Linked DNA regions of Homo sapiens: region 1 is linked to region 2. Evidence: promoter capture Hi-C in human tissues and cell types (Jung and others, 2019). All regions are on one chromosome and are shown on one strand. The core of a region is centred on a gene start or on the middle of the fragment in contact, and the rest is flanking DNA. Distances in the headings are between cores, read along the strand shown.

Region 1 (5,402 bases), core at 2,841-5,340, 450 kb after region 2:
CTGCCCACTGGGGGAAGCAGTGATGAAGAGCTCAGACTGCTTTGTGCCCACTGTTAGATGGGGAAAGCAAGCCCCTGCACTGGGGAATGGTCCAGGAAATGTGAGTAGGTGCTCAGTAAATATTCGTTGAATAAATAAATGAATGGGCGAATAAATTTCGGCAAGTGTCTTTAGAGCCTCCCATCAGGAAAACTGGAAGGGCCCCTAGGGACTCCTAACTAGGGTGTGTAAGCCAAGAACAGCATGGCAGGTCAGCAACCTGTGACATGGTGTGTGTGCCAAATTATGTGTTTCTGTCTTTTTCTATGGAAGCAGACCACAATATTTTCATCCGTGTTTCAAATAGGGTAGCTGACCCAAATACATTTAAAGTCCTGATTCAGTCTCTACCCCATTTCACAGACAGGGAAATGGAGTCTCATTTCCCTCAGGAAGTCAATGGCAGAATGATCCTGGAGGAACCTGGCCTCCCACAGCTGGGCTCATGGGCCAGCTGGAAATCCCAGCATCTTGCCTGTCATCCCTGAAGCCCCACCCTCTTCTAGATGACTCTCGGCAAAGCCTCCACCAGCTGTACCCCTTTCTTCCAGCTTCTTCTTGGGGAAGAGGAGAGGATGTGCTCCATTCTGAAAGTCTCTCTAGCCCCGGGAATCCTCATCCCCAGTTCTTACAATTCTCATTTCCTAATCTCTTTCAGTGTGTATGCCTCACTGATCAAGTGACAGCAGGTAAATTACAAGGGCAGCAAGAAATTACAACCTCAGGAACACCAAATACATATCAGAACATACCTGGCCAAAACAGTGCTTAGAGGAAAACGTATGCCCTTGAGTGCATTTATTTAAAAAGAAAGAAAATTGACAAATTAAATTTTCAACTCAGCAAAGAAGGAATAAATCTTTTTTTAAACCGCAACATTCACGAAAGAGGTGGCATCTTAAAAGGGGATAATGACATCAAAGGCTTTTTTAAAAACCAACAAAATAACAAACCTTTGGCAAGTATGATCAGGAGAAGGCATGAATGAGCGACACGGGGAATGAGAAGTGGAAGGCATTAGTACAGATTCGTATGAGAGTTGCAAATTCTGAGAGAATCTTCCCACAATGTTACAACAACACATTTGAAAACTCAGATGGAATGGACCATATTCTGGGCACTGGCTTCCAGAGTTGAGCAGGCATCAGAATCACCTGGAGGGCTTGTTAAGCACAGACTGCCGAGTCCTACCCCAGAGTGTCTGATGCCGTAGGTCTGGCGAGGGTCCAATAATTTGCATTTCTAACAAATTCTCCAGTGATGCTGATGCTGCTGCTCTGGAAACACACTCTGAGAACCACTGTCCTAGGGACTAACCAAGTTCCCCCCATTCCTGAGCTGCCTAAGAGCTATCTGGATAGGAAGTGAAAGGAGGCTTATAATTAGTGGCCCAAAGCTCCTTCATCTGTATGACAGGGCTGGACGATGAGGGACCGTGGATCTCAGGAAGCCGGAAGCCAAGCAGTGAAGCAGAGCCCTGACCCGTGCCAGGCTTTACCTGGGGCGCTTATTTAATCCCATGAGGTTTATTTACCAGATGAGAAAACTGAGGCATAAAGAGGATGAATAATTCCCTGAGTCCACAGCTGGTAAACTGAGGTGGGAATCCCATTCTTAAGCACACAAGCTGGGAGCAGCGCTGTGCCACCCACGCCTTAATTCTGTGCCACAAACCTCTGTGCGGTGGGCCTTGTTGTCCTGATTTAACAGTGTCTGAAGTGACAAGGGCAGCCCTGAGTCCCGGGCACTGGAAGCCAGAAGGGAAGTGGAGCTGGTGAGGTGCCAACTCCAGCCCCCAAGTGGGGAGCTGTGCTTCCCTTGAACTCTCAAAGCCTCAATTCCCTCATTAGTGAGAAATTGGGGCCACTAACAGCCCTTTCCTCACAGGGTCATTGTGAAGAATAAATAAGTGTCCACCTCCCTGCCTGGCACAGGCTAGGGTCTCAGCTACAGTAGCTTTATAGTTGTCATTAAAGTTATTATGATATAACCGCCAGAGTTTCACACAGGCACTGCCACAGATGTTATCTCATTTTGTTCTCACAGCCACCCTGGGGGTAGCTGGTGCCCTTTTTGTTTTACAAATAAGGAAAATGCGGTTCTGGGAGGGGCGGTTAGGGACCCACACTGCCAGTGGCAGAGCCTGAATTAGAAGCAGGAGGCCCCCTGGAGCCAGGGCAATGGCATCTACCCCATCTGAGGGTCGTTGTCGCTGGAAGGGAGTGAGGGAGCACTTGCCCAGACCCCAGACATCCTGCAGCTCTCACTCCTCACTGTTGGGCCTCCCTCTCCACACCCACCAGGAAGGCTTAGCAAGGGCCAGGAATTTGCCCAAGGTCACACAGCGGGCAAGTGACCTAACTCCAGACCCAGGCCTGGAGGCCCTGCAAATCCTGACGCCTTTGGATTGTTGGGAGAAGAGAGAAAGAATCCCCAACCTGCACCTCCTGTCTTTCCCCGTCCTCTGAAACTGACCCTACTGGTAGACAAATACACCTTTCTCTCCAACGTACTGAGCCCCTGCAAATAAAATTAAACTGCCAACAAAATAAACAAGAGTCACAACAATAATACATCAGCCATTACTCTGGGGGGATAGAGTGGGAGGTGAGCCACGCTGCCCAGTGCCTACTACGTGCCAGGCCCAGTGCTCTGCGCTCCCTCAATATCTCACTCGCGGCTCACGAACAACCCGCATGCATGCATTATTTTCCTTTTTTGCAAACGAGAAAACCGAAATCTAAATATATAGAGTCAATTTCTCAAGGTCACTCAGCGAGGAAATGGCCAGTCCAAATTTGAACACACTTCTGGCCAACAACAGCACATCCGAGCTCTCACCACTGTCCACACCACAAGGAGCGGGAGGAAGAACCCAGGCCAGGGGTGCGACACTCAAAGAGTTTGCACCTAACGATTTTAGAATTCGCTGGAAGAAAATGATTCCGCTTGTCTCCCCAAAGCTGCAGCGGAAGGTGACTACTTCGTGTGCGGTCCTGTCCACGGTGCCCTGGGCCGGGTAGACAGTCACTGAGGCGCGAGCAGAACGGGGAGTGGTTCCAGCGCCCAAAGTGGACTGGAGCCGGGAAGGGCTCACCAGTCGCGTTTCCCAAAGAAATCCCGCAATTTGCTCTAGGAGCTGCCCGCGCCTTTGACATTCAGGAACCCGAAGTCCCTAGACCCGCCGAGCCGCGAGCGGGTTCCCACGCGCGACCACAGCCCCCTTCCATCCTGCAACGAATTACGAGAGTCAGGTCCCCGCTCCCCACCGGGCGACCCCGCGTCCCTAGCCCAGCCGCAGCTGGCACGCGTGGGCACCTGCGAGTCACGCCTCGGTCCGCCTGGCCGGAGCCAGGGAGTGTCTCCAAAGTGGCCGCGAGGCCGCGGCCGAAACCCGGGCGGGGGCGAATTCTCCCCACGCGGGTCGGCGTCATCCGGGGCGCGGAGAACGCTACGGTGCTCCCCTCGCCCCGCGCGCAGGCAGCGCGAAGCCTGCCCCGGGTAGTGCGCCCCTTTCGTTCCTCCGGCGGCGGTAGCGTCCAAGGGGCTTCTGCGGATTCCGCCGGGTCGTCCCGGGGTTGCAACTCCATTGTACCTGAAAGGATGCATTTGGTTTGGCTTTTGCTCAGATGAAAAAAAAAAAAAATTGGAAGAAAACGAAAACCCACTCAGCAAAAGACAATTTCACAAGCGGAGCGCTCTACCCACCCAGCGCGGTGTCTGGGAAGCGGCCCGGCCCGGAGGAGCGGGGAGCGTCTGCTAATTGCAGCTTCGTTAGATTTCGGGTTTGGGAGGCTGTGGTTCGGGCTCTAATATCCGCCGCCCATTATCCCTGCTAATAAATTTGACCTATTGTTCGTTTGTTAAAATGATGTCACCTTGGAACAGTCCCTAAGCTCCTATTTCCATGAATTAGGCCTTTATTGAAAGCCGGGAGCCAATGAGAGGAGAGAGGCTTGTTGATCGCAGCCAATGGCTGCGGCAGGAGAGGAATTAGCAGCGGAAACTCCAGGTTCGGTTCAAGAAAGATGACACAGAGCCTGTCGGGCCCGCGCACTCTTGGCAAAGTTTCAGTGCGACGAGAGGCGCCGGGCGCTCCATGGCCGCGCCGTAACGGGGACCCAGCCGCCTCCCCGCCCAGCCCAGCCCAGCCCTTCCGCCCGCCCAGGATGGAGGCGCCCGCCAGCGCGCAGACCCCGCACCCGCACGAGCCCATCAGCTTCGGCATCGACCAGATCCTTAACAGCCCGGACCAGGACAGCGCACCCGCCCCGCGGGGCCCCGACGGCGCCAGCTACCTGGGAGGGCCCCCCGGGGGCCGTCCGGGCGCCACATACCCGTCTCTGCCCGCCTCCTTTGCGGGCCTCGGCGCGCCCTTCGAGGACGCGGGATCTTACAGTGTGAACCTGAGCCTAGCGCCCGCAGGCGTGATCCGGGTGCCGGCGCACAGGCCGCTGCCCGGGGCCGTGCCACCGCCTCTGCCAAGCGCGCTACCCGCCATGCCCTCCGTGCCCACGGTCTCCAGCCTTGGCGGTCTCAATTTCCCCTGGATGGAGAGCAGCCGCCGCTTCGTGAAAGACCGCTTCACAGGTGAGCAGAGCTGGCGACCAGGCTCCAGGCCTCCGCCCTCTCGGGGCCAGAGGCGCCGCGCCCTGTGCGCTCCACTCCCGGAAACCATTTCAGAGGCCCAAGCGCGGCGGAGGCCTCGGCCCCAGGGCCCCGGGCAGCCGTGGTGGGGAGGGTAATCGGAGAGTTGCAGGAAAATAAGCCCGTGCCCGGGGGAAGGGACAGGGGGCGAGGGGGTCTCCCGACCGGCTTGGTGTCTCTGGAAACGCGCGCGACCAGCGAAATAGCGGAGCTCTCCGTGTCCCACGGGGCGCCACGGGGTCCGCATGGGGCCTGAACGGTGGCGGAGCCGGGCTGGGCTTCAGGGGCCCTCCTGTGTCTCCGCAGCGGCGGCCGCACTCACGCCCTTCACCGTGACCCGGCGCATCGGCCACCCCTACCAGAACCGGACGCCGCCCAAGCGTAAGAAGCCGCGCACGTCCTTTTCCCGGGTGCAGATCTGCGAGCTGGAAAAGCGCTTCCATCGCCAGAAGTACCTGGCCTCTGCCGAGAGGGCGGCGCTCGCCAAGTCCCTCAAAATGACGGACGCGCAGGTCAAGACCTGGTTCCAAAACCGGAGGACCAAGTGGCGGTGAGAGAGGCCTGACCCGGCCCACCTTACACCTGCCCTTCACCTGTCCCGCCCCGAGCCGCAGCCTCGCACTAGCCCTATTTTAAGGCTATCCACTACCCCCGCCCCCCTCTGCCTCCCCCAAACACACCCCCACCCCGCCTTCGCAGATTGTACCTCTTCCTTT
Region 2 (5,925 bases), core at 36-2,535:
AAGGGGACAGATGCAATATTTAAAGAACTAGTGACCAAGATTTTTCAAAACTTGATAAAAAAGATTACATTCACACTTAAAGAGCTTTATGAATCCCAAGCAGGATAAATACAACACACACACACACACACACTTAGCGACATCAAGCACAAAGTGCTGAAGACAAAAAGAAAAAATAAAAAAAGAGAAAAATGTTCAAGTACCTGAGGAGGGGGCCAAAAGACAGGAGCAACAATTAGACTGATGGCTGATTTCTCAATAGAAACAATGACAAGCAGAAGACAATGAGAAGACATTTTTAAAATGCTGAAAGATTAAAAAAAAAGCCAATGTGAAATTCTATACCCAGCAAAACTATCCTTTAAAAAATGAAGGTGAATTAAGATGATTTTATGTTAACAAAAGCTGAGAGACTTTGTTGTTAGCAGACCTGAATACAAGAAGTGCTTAAGGGAGTTTCCCTCTTAAATACTACAGCACAGTGCTCCCAAATGGAAATGCTGAACTTGAAGAAAAAACGGAGAACATCAGAAAGCAGCAACTTTGACCCAATTCTGCTCCAATAAATTCTCATTGCAGTGGAATCATTTGTTGTAAAATATAAGTTCATATTAAACAAAATGCAGACAAAGAATGAGGTAAAGCTTGAATTTTACAACTTAACAGCATGTAGACATGGGCGGTTTAATTTTAACCAAAATCAAGTTAAAAACATTGTTAAGCAACAATGGAATTTGGGCCCTGGGAGTCAGGGGTCAAGGGCAACAGCTGGCATGTGGGAGTCAAAGGTTATGGCTGTGTGTGTCTGTGGTTCCTGGCTGTTAGGAGACAAGAAAATCTGTGGAGATGCAGGTGTCGGGAGCCATGGGCGATAGTTGTATTTTGAGGGTCAGGGGTCAAGAGAGCCTTTGGAAGACTTATGAGTCAGGGTCCACGGCTGACGGGTGGGTCGTGGTAGTTGTGTCAAAGGGCAGAGGTTGGAGGTCATGACCCACCAACACACGCCGGTTGAAACTTGAGCGCAAGGGACGGTTGAGATTCCCGGAGGACACGCCCCTATCGGCCCCGCCCCGTGCACCGCCTCCGTCGCCCCGCCCCGTCCCTCCCAGCCCCGCCCCGTCCCTCCCAGCCCCGCCCCTCCAGCGCTTCGAATGCGGACGCGAAGCCTGGCTGAGGCTGCGAAGGACGAGCGGCGCAGGGACCCCGCGGGCGTCTGGGGCTTCCGCGGCGCCCGCCTCTGCTCCCTCCCCTCGGGCGCTGGGTGCCGACCGGCCGGCTGGCCGGCGCCGCCTCCTGGGAAGATGGCGCTGCACTTCCAGGTCAGTGTGCTCTGCGCCGCGGGCCCGCGCTCCGCCACGCTGGGAACCCGGCGGGACGCGTCTGGAGACCGAGGGCCGAGGACAGCGGCGGAGGCCGCAGGGCCGTGGGCCGGTGTCCCCGGAGTCCCAGCCCCTGCCTCTGCCCCTAGCCGGGGACCGGGACACTGGTCTGGGCTGCACACCCCAGGCCCGGGCCGGAGCCCGAGAAAGGGGCGGCCGAGCCTGGGTTGGAGGCGGCGGGTGGAGGGGGCGGGGGACAGGCCCAGGGCTCGTCCCGGGGAAGGTGCGGACGCCGGCAGCACGCTCGCTGACCGCGGCTTTAGTGTTGCCAGGGCAGGTGGGAGTCCCAGCTGGGCCGGCTTTGGCGCGCCTCGCGCGGCTGCCGAGCGGTGGAGCAGCCTTCCCGCCTTCCCGCCGCGTCGCCGGCGCGGCTCTATCGTCAGCCTCCCTCCACACAGTTGAGCCCCAGCCGGAGCGGGGGCTTGGGATCCACCGAAGGAGCGGCGGCAGCGGTTGGACTTTAATTGGCCAGAGGAGACAGGGGCTGCGTCTGGGGGGAGTTGCGAGGGAGGGCTACGCGGCCGCCTCTTCGGAGGAGGAAACCCGGGCCGGGCGCGGGCGCGGGCGCGGACGCGAGGATCGCAGAGGCTACGAAGATGGGACGCGTGCTTGTATATCCTCGGGCTGCTCTGACATCCCCGTTCAGTTATTCAGCAAACATTTATTATCTCCCCACTGTGTCTCAAGCATTGTGGAAAGTTCTGGGGATAAAGGATGACATCTTACTATCCTCGCCCTCATACAGTTAACAGAGAATTACAGTACAAGTGAAAAATGTATGGTAGAAATAGTCACAGTATCATAGCACAGAAAAGGGGGTAGCCAGCCAAATGTGTATGTTGAGAAGGAGTGAAGCAGAGCTGCTATGCTCTTAGCTGAGAGATGCTTTAAGATTCTTTGAGCCTCCATTCTTCCATTTATTAATTATTGAGCGCCTACTATGCTAGGCGCTGAAGATACAACAGCTCTGAACAAAACTATGGTTTCTACTCTCAGGGAACTTGCAGTCTACTGGTCCTTGAAAGAGTCGTAGTTGTTTGCCAGGTGAAGAGGAAGGGAAGGATATGGAGGTAGAAGGACGTGTGAGCCAAGGCAAAGAATTGTGGAAGAACATGGTGTACTGCAGAAAGTTGAGTCTGGTTGGGACAAAGGGATGGGATCAGGGGAGGCAGTGGGTGGCAGGAGATGACCCCAGGGAGGGAAGGGAATTTCATAATATGGTGACAGTGTATCTAAGAATCTCATTCCCCTTGTAGACTCTTTTGAACCCCCTGTGATCACACTGATTTATAACTTGGCTGATTTATTGATTCTTCTAAAGGGTCTTTTTTTTAAAACCAGTTACTGTCTGATAATCGACAGTTCTAGAATGTTATGTAGTAAGCCCGACACATTACCTTTTGACTTCATGCCATTTCTAAGGGTCCTCAGGTCAAAATAATGTATTACCACTTTAGTAAATATGCCCTCTGGGAAATTTTCACAGGAAGAATCTTACAAGGAGGATTTATGGATTGTAAATAGGTAATCAGATGTTCACAGAGCCCGAGTAAATCTTGAGAGTAAATTAAAAGGTATGGTGGAACTTTGGAATTTTTTCATACATGGAAAGGTGATGTACAGTTAAATCACCAAGCCCTGGAAGACTTCTTCATATTTAGGCACAGTGTTGGAAAAGTTAGCTGCTGATGTCAAAACTACCCATATTGGTTTTGCAGGAATGTACTTCACAGTACATTCCAACATAAGTACTTCACAGTACATTCCTGTAGACAGCTTAAAAGCGGAGTTGGACAAATAAAAGATCAGACAGTTTTGTTGACTAGAAAAAAACTGAAATTTCTCCGTTTGAATTCTTTTTAGCATATAGGATCATATTGTTAATCAGTTAACTCAAGGAACATTTGTTAATAGTGATAACCAGTACCTAGCATTTTGAGTTTTCATATCCTCATTATAGAGGTGAGCCCTGCCACTAACTTAAAAAGTGTGCATATATACGTTTCATTCTGAAGACACTGAGTCTTAAAACAGTTGTGACTTGCCCAACGTTACAGAGTTAGAGTAGGCCTCATAACTCATAAGTTCCGTGTTCCCCATTACCTCTGTCTTACTGTCACCTACCCAAAAGGGCAGCTAGGCAAAAATTATACCATCAAGATGATGAGTAAAGAAGCAGATTTGTGTAGGGTGAGGTTAGGGTAGTGGTCAACATCTTTTTCACATCATGACATACATAAAAAATGTTAATTGTGTGTCTCATTAACATAAACCGCTCATTGCCAAAGGCCATCAGTGTGCACTTTCCCCAATGTCTCAAGCTCTGCTCCTAATGCTTGGAGGGCAGAGGGATCAATATCTCAGGCATACCTGTGAATCATTCAAAGCAGTTGCATTCTGGTTAGGAAGCTGTGAATTACGATACCCTGTCCCAAAGGAATTAATGGGTCTGGATTCCCTGACAGGCAATCCAGATAAGGGGGCAGAGTGAGGAAAAAGAATTGAGAAGAAGTAAGAGGTAGGCACTTTAGGTAGAACAGAGGTACCTTGGTAAGAATCGAGAGAATGTTAGGAAAAATTTAAGGGACTCAGTTGATCCAACTTTTTTGCTCAGGACTGTTTAAGAAGCAGGAAATATAGCCATGCTTCTTAATCTCCAGTCAAGCTACCTGATTTGATCTAGATGTGATTGAGAACTATTATTTTTAAATGCAATTATAACATGAGAAAAGGTATGTGGGAATGACCATTCTGGCAGTGTGGACTTGAATGGGAGAAACTATGGAAGATCCGTATGGTCTTTTATATTCACCAGTAACTGGAGAGATTATTTATGATTTATTGTGGATCTTCTGTATGGCAGGCACTGGATTAGGCTTTCCCCATCTTTTCTATCTTCATTCTACAATTAGTTTGGAAGGTAGATATTGCTGTTTGCAGGTTTGTTGTTGTTGTTGTTGTCGTTTGTTTTTTGAGACAGAATCTTGCTCGCCCAGGCTGGAGTGCAGTGGTGGAATCTCGGCTAACTGCAGCCTCTGCCTCCCGGGTTCCAGTGATTCTCTTGCCTCAGCCTCCTGGGTAGCTGGGATTACAGTTGCAAGCCACCATGCCCTGCTAATTTTTGTATTTTTAGTAGAGACAGGGTTTCTCCATGTTGGCCAGGCTGACCTCGAATTCCTGACCTCAGGTGATCCGCCCACTTCGGCCTCCCAAAGTGCTAGGATTACAGGAGTGAGCCACCGCGCCCGGCCCTGTTTGCAGTTTTAACAGCAAGGCTTAGAAAGGTTAAATTATTTGCCCGAGGTCACTTAATAAGTGAGTGGCAGATTCCAAAGGTTGTGTCCACTCTGTTGGACCAGTGGTTTTCAAATCGAACCATGACATTTCTAAGACCCCACTACTCTCTACTCGCATTCCCAGAGCAGCTTGAGAAATCCCTGGCCCTGGCAGCCACAGTTAGAAAATATTGCTTGATCTACTGTCTGTGAATATCAGGGGGAGGTGTTGAGTTGAGTCTTTATAGAAGAATAATTGGGAGGACTTTATGACAAATTAGGTATGTCCCTGGAATTAGCCATACTGAGATTAGAGGGCAGAGTCCACAAGACTGCCCTTTCTTCTCAGACCAAGTGCAAGTTTGGGGGTTTCCCAAAACCACCCTCAGGTTCAGTAGTTGACTCACAGAATTCACCGAAAGTTGTCATACTCAGTTGCAGTTTGTTACAGGGACAGGATACAGATTAAAATTGGTCAAAGGAAGGTGACACAGGGCAACATCTGTGCAGGTTTCAAAACTAAGCTTCTGTTGGCCTCAGGACATGTTGTGCTCCCTGCATCAATATATGGCAATATGCACTAATTATTGCAAACTGGGTGAGCTCACCTAGACTTCATTATACAGGGTTTTTACTGGGGCTTCAGTTCTTAGGTATGATTGATTGATTGTCCACGTGTTTGAAATCAGTCCTAGGTTGACTATTACCTTGTGACCCAAAGTCCTGATCCTAAACATGTAATTGGTGTTTCTGGTGTGGCCAGCCCCCAGCCTACCACTATTGGGTATGGCCAGCCCCTCCCCTAAATAAAAACATTCCTATCAGGTATGATATACATTACCTTTCAGAAGCAAAGGCCAGATGTCTCTTATGGCAAGACCAAATCTGTTACTATACAGGAGGTACAAAGGAGACTAAGGAGAGGGGGAAGCAAAAGATAACATTGAGCTTGTAAATCTACACTCTGGTCTAGAAATCTGAAACTACTGAGAAGAAGGGACACTTAGGCCGGGCATGGTGGCTCACGCCTGTAATCCCAGCACTTTTGGGAGGCTGAGGCAGGTGGGTCACGAGGTCACGAAATCGAGACCATCCTGGCTAACACAGTGAAACCCCATGTCTACTAAAAATACACAAAATTAGCTGGGCGTGGTGGCGGGTGCCTGTATTCCCAGCTAATTGGGAAGCTGAGGCAGAAGAATGGCGTTAACCCGGGAGGCGGAGCTTGCAGTGAGCCGAGATCGCACCACTGCACTCTTGCCTGGGCAACA

The links. The method cuts DNA at HindIII sites, captures the fragments that hold promoters and counts their contacts. A contact is called where the count stands out against the background at its distance.
Region 1: the fragment with the promoter of TLX3 here is called in contact with the fragment with the promoter of RANBP17 in region 2 in 2 of the 25 tissues and cell types used here (H1 embryonic stem cells and neural progenitor cells).

What each region holds. Positions count from the first base shown.
Region 1 is chr5:171,305,158-171,310,559 of GRCh38, forward strand. It overlaps TLX3 (T cell leukemia homeobox 3), which reads left to right and starts at 4,091. Exons shown (of 3, transcript NM_021025.4): 1 at 4,091-4,629; 2 at 4,993-5,236. The coding sequence starts at 4,209. RefSeq lists enhancers at 2,698-3,582, 3,583-4,468, 4,469-5,353, 5,354-5,402. The HindIII fragment of the contact is 20,402 bases long and covers 1-5,402 here.
Region 2 is chr5:170,860,733-170,866,657 of GRCh38, forward strand. RANBP17 (RAN binding protein 17) reads left to right here and starts at 1,286. Exons shown (of 28, transcript NM_022897.5): 1 at 1,286-1,319. The coding sequence starts at 1,302. The HindIII fragment of the contact is 7,494 bases long and covers 1-5,925 here.